4 separate regions of the Homo sapiens genome follow, and regions 1, 3 and 4 are each linked to region 2. Evidence: promoter capture Hi-C in human tissues and cell types (Jung and others, 2019). All regions are on one chromosome and are shown on one strand. Each heading gives the region's core, a stretch centred on a gene start or on the middle of the fragment in contact. The rest is flanking DNA. Distances are from core to core; before and after follow the strand shown. Region 1 overlaps KHNYN (KH and NYN domain containing). Region 2 holds the start of DHRS4-AS1 (DHRS4 antisense RNA 1). Region 3 has its middle 28 kb from the start of NGDN. Region 4 has its middle 14 kb from the start of MYH7.

Region 1 (3,465 bases), core at 115-2,614, 480 kb after region 2:
AAGTGTACCATATAATTTTTTTTTGGTTTGTTTTTGAGACGGAGCCTTGCTCTGTCGCCACGCTGGAGTGCAGTGGCACGATCTCGGCTCACTGCAACCTCTGCCTCCCAGGTTCAAGTGATTCCCTTACCTCAGCCTCCCGAGTAGCTGGGACTTCAGGTGCATGCCACCGTGCCCAGCTAACTTTTTGCATTTTAGTAGAGATGGGGTTTCACCATGTTGGCCAGGGTGGTCTTGATTTCCTGACCTCATGATCCGCCCACCTCAGCCTCCCAAAGTGCTGGGATTACAGGCGTGAGCCACCAAGCCCGGCCATAGACATTTGTATGTCATTCCCTTAATTTGTTTCCCAGACAGAAGCTCAGAGCCTGATATCTGTCACACCTAATCCTGACTCCCAGTTCCCCCTATACCACACTATCTTTCAAATACTGACTGCTCACTTAGTACTAGGTGCATGGCCTGCAGGAGGAGGTGGGAACACTGGGAACAAGATCTGATTCTTGACTAGAGAGCCGAAAGAAACCATAAATCAAACACTACAGGAACTCAGAGGGAAAGGAGCCCCATTCTGGCTGGGGTTTTGTGGGAAAGGAGAGATTTGTGAGTTTTTGTGTTGAGAAGACTGGGATGGGTTGGATCTCTGTTTCTAAATCTGTTAAAAAGACCACCACCCATCACTTCATGAGTCCTACCCTGTCTTGTGGAATCAGAATTACTGAATGGAGCCCAGGCATTTTTTAAAAAAGTTCCCTTGGTAATTCTGTTCCTTAGCAAGTCTTGGGAAGTGCCTTCCAGATAGAGGAAATAGTTGGAGAAATATGGAAGTCAGCATAAGACATATGTGGAGAGCAGAGTGTAATCTGATTATTGATTTTAGCTGGAGTTGAGAGTGGGTTAGGGAATATTGGGAGAGATAAGGCTGTAAGGGTGATTTGAGCTGGCCTGTAGAAGGCCTTAGCTGCCAGGCCTGGGTGTGTGGACTTTATTTGGTAAATAAAGGGCAAGTGTGGAAGAGTTTTGTGTAGGTGATAAGCATGCTTTCTTGGGGCAGGGCAGGGGAGACTGGAGGGTGGGTGAGTGGTCAGAGGCGGGGACCCCCTTGTTAGGAGGTTATGCATAATCTCAGTTGCAATATCTGAATTACTGGGGTGGTAATGGTGGGCCTGGGAAGGAAGGGAGCAGAGCACAAGGCTTTTCAAAGGAAAGGCATGTTGGATTTGCAAGGGATTGGTTGGGCAGGGTGGAAGACAGAGCTAGATCTTACTGTTTACTAACGAGGCACAAAGTGTTGGGTGAAGGACTATGGTTGGCAGATAGGATGCTACTGGGAGACCACCTTGGATTCATCTTTGTTTCCTCTCTAGGCCATGGCACTTGCATCTAGTCAGTTGCCTGTAGCTGGGTCAAGGTGAGGTAGGGGGCCAGATCTCCATCACCAGAAGTGGCCTATGGGAGACAGTAAAACTTCTGGGGTTGGGGCCTTGGAGAGTCCCAAATGGTTGCTGTGGTTTTTACTTTTATTTTTGTAGATTTGGGGGATACCAATACAGTTTTGCTACATAGATATATTGCATAGTGGTGAAGTCTAGGCTTTTAATGTAACCATGATCCAAACAGTGAACATTGTACCCAGTAGGTAATTTTTCAACCCTCTCTCGGTTGCTGTGGTTTTGGAGACAGGTTCATGGTGAAGCTGGCTGAAGAGACAGATGGGATAATTGTCTCCAATGACCAGTTCCGGGACCTGGCGGAGGAGTCTGAGAAGTGGATGGCAATCATCAGAGAACGGTGAGGGAGCCCTCCCGCTGAGAACTGGGCACAGATGCAGATGTTTTTCTAAAGCCAGCTCTGCTCTGGCCATGGGGTGAAAACTCTGGGAAGGAGGTGAAGTTTTCTTGAAGGATGGAGCCAGCAGCTTCTGGTGATACTGGTCTCGGTTGTCTGGGAGGTGGGCAAGGGCCCCCTCTGTGACCACACATTATCTTTCGCCATCCAGCCTGCTGCCCTTTACCTTTGTGGGAAACCTCTTCATGGTACCTGATGACCCACTGGGGCGAAACGGCCCCACCCTGGATGAATTTCTGAAGAAGCCAGCCAGGTAATCAATCCCCTAGACTACTTACAGGCAGCCCCCACCCCTGGCCCTCTCTCAGCAGGCCCAGAGACTTGGGTGGAAGTGTGACCTCAGTTTGGGCCAGCTTAATTTTGCAGTGGTTTGAGTTGCATTGGCCTTGGCCTTTATAAGCTTCCCAGGGGATCCTGACATAGAACCTCCTTGCTGGGAGGGAAACACCTGCTTCCTGTTTCTCTTAATCAGCATGTTTGATGGAGTTATTTGGAAAATGGTTGCTTATACTGACAGCCAGTTGTATTCAGCATGCCTTCTGCTGACCATTACATAAGTGATTCATTTAGGACTAGAACTAGATCATAATAGTGGCAGAGTTCACCCTGTTTCTAAAAGAACGGCCCATCTTCCCTTCAGAAGTGGGTTGATACTGCCACTCAGTGGTCAGCTTCAGGAACTTCAGGATTTCTCCCCCAAAGCCAGGAATAGGCAGGACAATTACGAGAGGGGTGCCCACTAAGATCTAATTTCCCCCCCAGGATGCTCATCAGCTCTTTTTGGTCTGTTTCTTCCCAGGACACAGGGGTCTTCTAAGGCTCAGCATCCTTCCAGGGGCTTTGCAGAACATGGTAAACAGCAGCAGGGGAGAGAAGAGGAAAAAGGTAGTGGTGGCATTCGGAAGACCCGGGAAACAGAGCGGCTCCGGCGGCAGCTGCTGGAGGTGTTTTGGGGTCAGGATCACAAAGTGGACTTCATCCTGCAGCGGGAGCCATACTGCCGGGACATCAACCAACTGTCTGAGGCCCTGCTCAGTCTTAACTTTTGAGCCTCACCTGCTTGAGTGGCTGCCGCCCTGTCAGCTCCAGCCGCCTCCAGCTCAGCCCTTTCTGTGAGAGTCCCTCTGCTGCTCACTCTGATCCAGAGGCACCCTGAGTTGGTGCTTTGGATCAGGGAAGCCACTTTGGGACAGGTCCATAAAGTGAACTGATCTTACCGAGTCAGGACCTCAGCCAGCTCTCAAGAGGTTCTGCTCAGCCTTAACTTCTCAACTTTGCCTTAGCACAGGGTTTCTGTAGGGAGTGGGGGCTGCTAGAGGGGATTAGTTCCGGAGACTGAGACTGTTGGCTCCACCTCCAAGCTGAGCTAGGGTGGAGGGCAGGGTGGGCAGGAAGTGACAGGAAGTTAAGCTGTTCCTCTCCCTGGCTGCTGCTCTGGATGGCCAGAGAACAAGATGCTCCCTTGCTGAGCTCCTGGGAGCGTGGAAGGAGATGCTAGGCCCTGGCACAGTGTTATGTGGACTGGGCCACGATAGGGTGGAGTGAGCTAGTGAAGAAGGCAGAGGGAGACTTGGCTTCTGGTCTCAGCTATGCCTGTTTTGTGACCTTGATTGAGTT
Region 2 (3,290 bases), core at 591-3,090:
CCTATCACGTCTCTCTCCCAGGCTCTTCCAGCCTCACCTGGTGGACTCCATGGCGACCACAGGCCTCACCTCCATGGGCAGTCTCAAAACATTTGCCCTCCTGTGGGCTGTCACACACATAGACCCAGACTTTCTTGGAGAAGGAATTCTGAAGAAGCAAAAGCAACCAACTCAAAACCCCCACTTCCCAGAGAAGAAAAGGTGGGCAAGCAGATGCAGAAAGGCAGCAGCCAAAGCCTGCGGGTTCCTGCAAGGGCCAGGGGAGGGGCGAGCCCTACAGGCAACTTGAACGGAGAGCTCACCCGCCAGCCCGGAAAGGCAAGCCCCAGTCAGGCGGAAGGTAGATGGTGGAGGGGCGCCGCGGCGGATGGAGGTGCCCAGGGCCACAGACCGCTCACAGCGGTACCGGGGCGGGGAGCAGGGCGGGCAGGGAATCGGCCCGCCCTTCGTCCTGCCCCTCGCCCTACTCTGTCACCGCCCCTGGGAAGAGTGGAACCCATACTTGCTGGTCTGATCCATGCACAAGGCGGGGCTGCTAGGCCTCTGTGCCCGGGCTTGGAATTCGGTGCGGATGGCCAGCTCCGGGATGACCCGCCGGGACCCGCTCGCAAATAAGGTGGCCCTGGTAACGGCCTCCACCGACGGGTGAGTGCTCCGGCCGGAGTTTCTGAGGCCCTGGCTGCCTGGAAACAGGCACTGGCCTCTCATCCTCGGCCTCCGGTGCCCCTGTCCTCAGACCTTACACGCTGCCAAAGTCTGGCCCTGGAAAAAAGGTAGCCACGTGGTCCGCCTGAAGCCACTCCGAATCCCCTAGCCCTGGACCCTCCCTTGCCAGCCCTCCTGTCCCTGCTACCTCTGGCACAACTGTGCCACCTCTGTGCAGCCCTATCGATCTAGTCTCCCCAGTGTTCTGGGCTGCCCCAGTCAACCAGCGCCACCTAGCGTCTGGGAAGACCAGAAACTGGAAATCCAAGGAAATCTGGATTTCAAAATACTATCCCACGGCCTCCAGCACTTTGAAAATGTACCAGACATTCTATTTGGGCACCGGAAAGTCCCCCGGAACCCCTCCCCCTTACCTAGATGGGACACCAGAGCCATATGTCGAGATTTTTGTTTAGGTCGGTACATCTGGGCCGACCTTGCCCAGCCTGTTTCTCACCCACCATTCTTGTCTATCCTGGTCCTCATTTCTACAGGACTTTGCTAGATGCCAGCTCTTCACAAAACTAAAATACAAATGTAGGTAAAATGCTAATAGCTGACAAATGCAAAATGTGTAACTCTTCCTCCCAAGGCAATATTTACATTTTTGACCGGAGACCATCTTTTCACATGCACCCCAAAAAATAACTAAGGATAGAATTTTGAGAATGATGTAGACGAGTAAGAAAGAAACCTGGGGGCAGGGCTGTTCTGAGTGAGACCCTCAAATCACGGAAGTGGCTGCTGCTGCAAACCCAGCTCATTTCTCACCTCTCAGTCCCAAGAGGGGATGAAGCCTGTCACCCATGGTGGGAACTGTAGAAAGTGATGTCAGTTCTTGGGAACTGAGGCTGTGGTCCAGGTCATAATAAAAACAAGTAAAGGAATGCCAAAAATGGCCATGCCATTAAGCCTGTTTTACACATAGTAGGCACACGTAGGGGTTATATAGAGAAAGAGCCAGAATTCAAACCCGGGCAGTCTTAACTTCAGAGCTCATACTGTCGACCTCTTCCCCTGCACAGGCCTTAGCAGTCTTTGTCTCTTTCTGCTCACAGGATCGGCTTCGCCATCGCCCGGCGTTTGGCCCAGGACGGGGCCCATGTGGTCGTCAGCAGCCGGAAGCAGCAGAATGTGGACCAGGCGGTGGCCACGCTGCAGGGGGAGGGGCTGAGCGTGACGGGCACCGTGTGCCATGTGGGGAAGGCGGAGGACCGGGAGCGGCTGGTGGCCACGGTGAGCTGCAGGGAAATGGGCACAGAGCCAGGAGGTGGAAAACGGAGCCAGCCTGAGCCTCCTTCCCTGCTTTCCTAGACAGCAGCACATTTTTACTGTGTGCCTTTCTATTATGTCCATATACTAACGTCAGAGAATCATCCCATCTCAGTCAGAGAATTTTAAAACATTCTAATGCTTCAACCCTGCATCATCCCTTGAGTACCCCAAAGAAACAGCTGGTACTGGTTCTGCAGTAATTTTCAATCTAATTGAACAGATGTGAAGGGTAAATACAATCACAAAATACATGTTCCCACCCATGAGTTAATAAACATTCCCCTCTTCTTCAGCTTATAGAGTCAAGTCCCTGGGAACCTCAGGAAGCAGCCCACCATGTTTCAGCCACTTACTATGTGCCATTTCCTGTGTTCAGAGCCTTACACAGGTTATCTCTAGACCTGACAACAACCCAAGCAAGGCAAGGACTATTCTCTCAGTCTGCAGACCCTGGCTCAGATAGCTGGAGCAACTTCCCAAGGTCCCACAGCCAGTAAGGAAAGACCCAGACCTCCCAGGCTCCCTTCCTTTATTGGCTGCCTGTGGACTACCGGGTACTGGACTTTAGTCTCAAAGAAAGTATATAAGTCGATGTCAGAATTAGTAGTGGACACCAGCCTTGCAGCTGCTGAAGCAAATATGAAGCATTCACAAAGGAAGCTCCTCTTCCCTTGAGGCTCACGGCATACACTTTATTTCCCAGAGTGGAAGGGAGAATCTACCCAAAAATGGAAAGTACAGGATTCTGCTAACAGATTGGAAGGTTGGCAGAAATAATTTGCATAATCTTAGAAGAGGAGGATCTTAAGCAATAGTAGACAGTAGTATGGTAGACAGAATAGGGTAATTCCATTTTTAAGGAACTGTCTGGCAAATGCTCAAATGTGCATTGGAAAGAGCCAAATATGAGTCCAAGAAAGTCACAAATGTGAGTCCAAAAAAGCTTGGCTTAGGCTGATGGACAGACCCCAAGATTGGGGCCTTGATCCTGATGGTGGAAGGAGCCGTTTGGGAGTCTGGATCAATTAGCACTAACCATATGACATGTAGCAATGTAATGTGAAAATCCTCCCGGAAAAACATCCTGTGGCCCCCACCAGGTTCACTTAACATGGCCTACAGGCCTGGCCCAGAGGTGGTACTTGAGCTAAACCTTAAGGAATGGATGGGAATGGACAGATGGAATAGTGATGAGGTTCCAGATAACTCTGCAAAATGAGCAGACAGCCAAGGAGGAACTGAAGGAAACAGAGGAGCACTGTCAGGCCACAGTGGAGAGCACAGGCTCAGGAGTACTGCTGGGGAAGGGG
Region 3 (3,386 bases), core at 645-3,144, 460 kb before region 2:
CTTGATAAATATTAATTGATTGACTAAGGTCTGACAATGAAAAGTAAGCCATTTCTGAGGGCCTTGGTGAAATAGTTTTGCATCACTTGACAAAATAAAACTCCCTTAGCTCTTAAAATTATATAGTGCTTTAAGATCCTTGGAGGGAGATATTGAAGTAAATGCAGAATGCCATCATTAGTCTGATGCATGCCATTGGGAAACCCTTGTCACCTTATGAGATGTGAACTGCCTGTAGCTTCAGTCCAGGCCATGTGTTATAGAGAAAAGTGCCCTGGATTATGAGTCAGAAGACCTGGGTTCTACTCTCACCTCTGCTACTTACCAACAGGGTAAATTTGAGGGAGTCAGCCTTTCAGTTGCCTCATCTTTAAAGAGAAAGTAATATCCACTCTGTGTTGATACATAGAACAGGAAATTTCCAAAGCAAAGCTTAAAGTAGAATGTGCTCTTAACCACAAAAACACTTTCCTCGGAGGCATTAAGTCTCCTGCGTCCAGGTAGGTCCTGAAGTATCCCTGCCTTGCAGATGAAGTAACTGAGACCTACAAAGGTTATATTTTGAGCTGATCTTGTCTTTGTTTCAGAGAATGATCTTTACTCAAATGTCCCCTTCTCTATGACCGCTCTATTTAAAATGGCCCTATCTTTCCCTCTATACAAACCCCTGTCCCCCTTCCCTGCTTTATTTTTCTCTGTGGCATTTGCAACATCTAACATACTACATATACTTAGAGATGGCTTATCTACTGAACATTGCCTTATGGTACAATTTCTGCTGGCATTTCAAGAGCAGAGGAATGTCGTGGCTAGAGTGAGCCTTGGACATTATGCATCTTGGGTCTTGCCTTCTGGCTAAAAAGGGATCCTGCCAAGTGGAAGGATCTTGGTAGTCTGTTTAGCTGGGCTCAGCTTCAAGGTCAAGGATAAAACTGGTAGTAAATAATATTCGGAAGAAGAAATCTGGGAAATAGGACTATTGTGTTCCTTTGTTCCTGAGCTTGTCACAGGCACTGTCCTGTTGGGGAAAGCCAAGAGGGTTCAGAGGGCTCAGGTTCCCTAGAGTGAATTCCTTGTAGATTGGTCCAGTTACTAATGAGGTTACTATATTAAAAATTCAGATTTATGGTGGCTCACACCTGTAATCCCACCACTTTGGGAGGCCGAGGTGGGCGGATCACTTGAGGTCAGGAGTTCGAGATCAGTCTGGCCAACATAGTGAAACCCCGTCTCTACTAAAAATAAAAAAACTTAGCCGGGCATGGTGGCGCATGGCTGTAGTCCCAGCAGCTGAGGAGGCCGAGGCAGGAGAATGGCTTGAACCCAGGAGATGGAGGTTGCAGTGAGCTCAGATCATACCACTGCACTCCAGCCTGGGCAACGGAGTGAGACTCCATCTCCAAAAAAAAAACCACTCAGATTTATGCAAAATTTAATGATTAGTGAAAACGGTTTTACTTACAAAAAGATTTGGGACATTTATGTGCTATAGATGACAAAACCCTGGACTAAGACTTAGCAGTTCTGGCCTGGGTGCAGTAACTCATACCTGTAATCCCAGCACTTTGGGAGGCTGAGGTGGGTGGATTGCCTGAGCCTAGGAGTTTGAGACCAGCCTGGGCAACATGGCAAAACCCTGTCTCTAAAACAAATACAAAAATTAGCTGGTTGTGGTAGCGCACGCCTATAGTCCTAGCTACTCAGGAAGCGGAGGTGGGAGGATCCCCTGAGCCTGGGAGGTCGAGGCTGCAGTAAGTCATGACTGTGCCACTGCACAACAGCCTGGGTGACAGAGTGAGACCCTGTCTCAAAACAAACAAACAGGGCTGGGCGCGGTGGCTCACACCTGTAACCCCAGCACTTTGGGAGGCTGAGGCGGGTGGATCACCTGAGGTCAGGAGTTCGAGACCAGCCTCAACATGGAGAAACCCCATCTCTACTAAAAATACAAAATTAGCAGGGCGTAGTGGTGCATGCCTGTAATCTCAGCTACTCGGGAGGCTGAGGCAGGAGAATTTTTTGAACCTGGGAGGTGGAGGTTGCGGTGAGCCGAGATCGGGCCATTGCACTCCAGCCTGGGCAACAAGAGCGAAACTCCGTCTAAAAACAAACAAACAAATAAACAAAAGACTTAGCTCTGCATTCCAATCTTGGCTCTGCAGCTAATTTCTGTGTGGCCTTTGGTAAGGCACTTAACTTCTCTGAAGTTGGGTTTCACTATTTCTTCCTAAGTTGCGATCTCTCTAGTTTGATCATATGAGATCTTAGGTTTAAAATTTTTTTTTTTTTTTTTTTTTGAGTTGGAGTTTCACTCTTGTTGCCCAGGTTGGAGTGTGGCGCAATCTCGGCTCACCGCAACCTCCGCCTCCCAGGTTCAAGCAATTCTCCTGCCTCACCCTCCCTAGTAGCTGGGATTACAGGCATGTGCCACCATGCCTGGCTAATTTTGTATTTTTAGTAGTGACGGGGGTTTCTCCATGTTGGTCAGGCTAGTCTCGAACTCCTGACCTCATGTGATCCACCTGCTGTGGCCTCCCAAAGTGCTGAGATTACAGGCGTGAGCCACCGTGCCCTGACAGGTTTAAAGTTTTTAATGCTAGGCCAGGTGTGGTGGCTCACGCCTGTAATCCCCAACAGTTTGGGAGGCCTAGGTGGGTGGATCACCTGAGGATAGGAGTTCAGACCAGCCTGGCCAACATAGTGAAACCCCGTCTCTACTAAAAATACAAAAATTAGCCTGGCGCGGTGGTGTGTGCCTATAGTCCCAGCTACTCGGGAGGCTGAGGCAGGAGAATGGCGTGAACACAGGAGGCGGAGGTTGCAGTGAGCCGAGATTGCGCCACTGCACTCCAGCCTGGGCGACAGAGCGAGACTCTGTCTCAAAAAAAATAAAAATAAAAATAAGTAAAAGTTTTTAAAACTTATAAAGGAAAGAAGGATATGAATATGTGTTAGCATTTATTGGGTGACTCCTAAATGCCAACCACAGGATAAGGGGTTTTTCTTAGGAAAACTAGCTCATTTAATCTTTACAGTCACTGGGGCATTTTGCAACCATCTTACAGATGAGGAAACTGAGGCTTTTGGAGATTTTTTCCTTAGAGAGTGAAAAAATTTTCCAGGGTTCCAGATTTATTACAAGAGCTCCTTTCTCAGATGTGGATCTTGGTCCTCAGGATGCTGCCTAGCTGCCCCCTTGGAATACTGCTGTTGCTGTACTGGCATGCTTCTTTGCTGAGCTTCAGCATGAGAATATAAATAGTTTTTCTTGGCTGGGTGCGGTGGCTCACGCCTGTAATCCTAGCACTTCGGGAGGCCGAGGCGGGTGGATCACGAGGTCGGGAGATTGAGACCATCCTGGCTAACATGGTGAAACCCCATCTCTA
Region 4 (3,112 bases), core at 555-3,054, 500 kb before region 2:
CCGTTCTGTAGGCTGTACAGGAAGCATAGTGGCATCTGCTTCTGGGGAGGCCTCAGGAAGCTTCCAATCATGGTGGAAGGTAAAGAGGGAGCAGGCACGTCACAATGGTGAAAGCAGGAGCAAGAGAGAGAAGGGGAGGCGCTGCACACTTTCAAATGACCAGATGGCACCAGAACTCACTCACTACCGTGAGGACAGTACCAAGGGGGATGCAGCTAAACCATTCATAAGAAATCTGCTCCCATGATCCAGTCACCTCTCACCAGGCCCCACCTCCAACATTGGGGATTACATTTCAATATGAGATTTGGGTGGGGACACAGATACAAATTATATCAGAATATGTCAAGAAGGAGCTGAGCAGAGAAGCCAGCGTGTCCAAAGCCCCAAGAGGAACTGAAATTGATTCAGAATGGCTAAAGTATGGGAGTAATCAGGGGAATATGACAAGAGAAGAGCCTAGAAGGCAGGTTCAGCTGGTCATGAAGGACCTTCTGAACCAAGTTAAGGAAGTTTGGACTTTAATCTATAGGCACTGAGCAGCTATTAATGTGTATTAAAAGAGATCATGATACTATCTGATTTTATAGAATAGGTGGCATAACCAGTGATTCTTGGGGGAAAGCAACGTTTAGTTTCTGATTCATTTGCATGAGAGATTCTAGACTTGTGGTCACAGGTAAAGAATGAAGAAACCTACCTAGAGAAACTGGGAACTAGAGAAGAGAAAGGGGAAGGGATCCAGGAGAAAGGTACTCAGTTACATTTATACTATTCGGCAGATTCCACCTTCGAAATGTCCCGCCTCCTCCTTTCTTTTCCATTCTCTTGAAAAACACTAGGCAAGCCCCTTTTTCACGTCTGCATAATTGCAACAGCACCTTAACTAGTCTTCCAGAGGCTCATTTCACCAGATGGCTAGCAGACTTGATTTTCTAAAGCACTACCTCTTACATATCTGTCATTCATAGAAACTTCCAGGGCTCCCTGTTGTCTTTAAGATGAAGCCTGGACTCCTCTGGCTGGCATTTAAAGACCCTCCATAAGCTGGCCCAACTGCCCCACCTTATCCCTTCACAGTCTCCCCCCAGGTCTGACTGGTCTATGGACAGCACCCTCACCCCAGGTTGGGCTTTCTCAGTCCCTGACCTTGTCGGGACTTTTTCTGGCTGCTTTTCTAGGCACAGCTCAGTGGCTCTCCTTTGAAAGCACTTGCCAGTCCAACACAGCTGACCCTGAAACACACAAAACAAACTTTGTTGAAACTTTACAACTACAAAAATGACACCCAAGATCTCCTACCCAATCACATTATTCTCCTTTGTTCAGTTCTTTCCAAGGGGTGTGTATATGTGTATAATACATATTTTTTGTATGGCTGCTGTGTGTAGATATATATGTACATAATCTCATAAAACACCAATTAGCATTTCATATTCTTACAATCTTATATTTCATAAATGGGGATAATAATATTGCTAACCTATGGGTTTGCTGTCAGATAACTTAATACAGTGATATAGTTTAAATATGTGTCCCCCCAAATCTCATGTTGAAATGTAATCCTCAGTGTTGGAGGTGGGGACTGGTGGGAGGTGTTTAGGTCCTGGGCGTAGATTTCTCATGAATGGTTTAGCTCCATCCCCTTGGTGCTGTCCTCACCATAGTGTGTGTGTTCTCTCAAGATCTGATTGTTTAAAAGCGTGTGGCACCCTCTCCCTGTCTTGCTCCCGCTCTTGCCATATGACATGCCTTCTCCTGCTTTGCCTTCTGCCATGAGTAAAAGTTCCTTGAGGCCTTCCCTGAAGCTGAGCAGATACTGTAAAGCCTGCAGAACTGTGAGGCAATTAAACCTCTTTTCTTCGTAAATTACCCAGTCTCAGGTACTTCTTCATAGCAATGCAAGAATGGCATAATACATACAGAGATTCTCAAACTTGTTCATGCTGCAGAATCACACAGAAGCTTTGTTAGGACACATTTTCTTGGCTGGGTGCAGTGGCTCATGCTTGTAATCCCAGGACTTTGGGAGGCAGATCATTTGAGGTCAGGAGTTTGAGACCAGCCTGATCAACATGATGAAACCCCATCTGTATGAAAAATACAAAACAATTAGCTGGTGTGGTGGTGCATGCCTATAATCCCAGCTACCTGGGAGCCTGAAGCAGGAGAATCACTTGGGCCTGGGAGGTGGAGACTGCAGTAAGCCGAGATTGCATCACTGCACTCCAGCCTGGGATGCCTGAATTTGCATACCAGATGCTACTGGATTGAGGACCACACATTGAGAACCACTGAATTAATGCATGTAAAGTGCTCAGAATAGTGCCTGGCATGTAGTAAATGCCCAATAAATGGAGCTACGGAGCTATTCATTTGCTATTTCTGAGTAAAAATATTAACATTTACTTGTTTGATATTTAGATTGTTTATAGTTTTAAATAACATTGTTATTGAGATATAATTCATGTGCCATAACATTTACCATTTTACAATATACGATTCAGTAGTTTTTAGTATATTCAGAGTTGTGCAAGCATCACCACTATCAAATTTTAGAACATTTTCATCACCCCCAAAAGAAATACCATACCTATTAGCAGTTACTCCTCTTTCCCACTGACTCCCTGTTTGTAGTTTTTTTGAACTTATAAATAAAGTATCTCTAAACATAAGTACACATGGCTTCTTTTTATTTTGAATGATTTCAATAGAACAAATTCTAGGAGACGAATTCCTTAGTCAAAAATTATGAATATGTTTACATATAGCCACTCTTTGAAAGCATTAATTTACAATCATTGTGGCTTTTTTTCCTGCTGTTGCTTTTCATTGTTAGCATATTGCTTATTCTTACACCGCTTCAGTTTCCTTAAGTTGATGGCACCAGAATATGAGGTCCTTGGGGTTGAGAACTGTAATATTTTCATCTTTGTGTCCCCTAGGGCTACACTACTGAGTGTGGTAGTCACTAGCCAAACATGGCTGTTGGGTACTTGAAATGTGTCTAGTGCAACTGAGACACTGAATTTTTCATTTAGTTAAAATTTAAAATGAAGGGAGATCAATTTATTTTCAACAAAGATTCCAAAACAATTCTTTGAGGAAATGG

The links. Contacts are between HindIII fragments. The study calls those that stand out against the background at their distance.
Region 1: a fragment that was not itself captured here is called in contact with the fragment with the promoter of DHRS4-AS1 in region 2 in 1 of the 25 tissues and cell types used here (adrenal gland).
Region 3: a contact is called between a fragment that was not itself captured here and the fragment with the promoter of DHRS4-AS1 in region 2, in 1 of the 25 tissues and cell types used here (mesenchymal stem cells).
Region 4: a contact is called between a fragment that was not itself captured here and the fragment with the promoter of DHRS4-AS1 in region 2, in 1 of the 25 tissues and cell types used here (IMR-90 fibroblasts).

What each region holds. Positions count from the first base shown.
Region 1 is chr14:24,434,389-24,437,853 of GRCh38, forward strand. It overlaps KHNYN (KH and NYN domain containing), which reads left to right. Exons shown (of 8, transcript NM_015299.3): 6 at 1,684-1,791; 7 at 2,000-2,101; 8 at 2,648-3,465. The coding sequence ends at 2,897. Among named protein-coding and RNA genes, the nearest start is that of KHNYN, 6.2 kb to the left of the region's middle. The HindIII fragment of the contact is 4,482 bases long and covers 1-3,465 here.
Region 2 is chr14:23,953,272-23,956,561 of GRCh38, forward strand. DHRS4-AS1 (DHRS4 antisense RNA 1) reads right to left here and starts at 1,841. Exons shown (of 2, transcript NR_023922.2): 1 at 1,477-1,841. DHRS4 (dehydrogenase/reductase 4) reads left to right here and starts at 499. Exons shown (of 8, transcript NM_021004.4): 1 at 499-645; 2 at 1,764-1,941. The coding sequence starts at 518. RefSeq lists enhancers at 21-220, 831-960, 1,011-1,140. The HindIII fragment of the contact is 7,990 bases long and covers 1-3,290 here.
Region 3 is chr14:23,495,864-23,499,249 of GRCh38, forward strand. No RefSeq gene overlaps it. Among named protein-coding and RNA genes, the nearest start is that of NGDN, 28 kb to the left of the region's middle. The HindIII fragment of the contact is 8,706 bases long and covers 1-3,386 here.
Region 4 is chr14:23,448,372-23,451,483 of GRCh38, forward strand. No RefSeq gene overlaps it. Among named protein-coding and RNA genes, the nearest start is that of MYH7, 14 kb to the left of the region's middle. The HindIII fragment of the contact is 6,568 bases long and covers 1-3,112 here.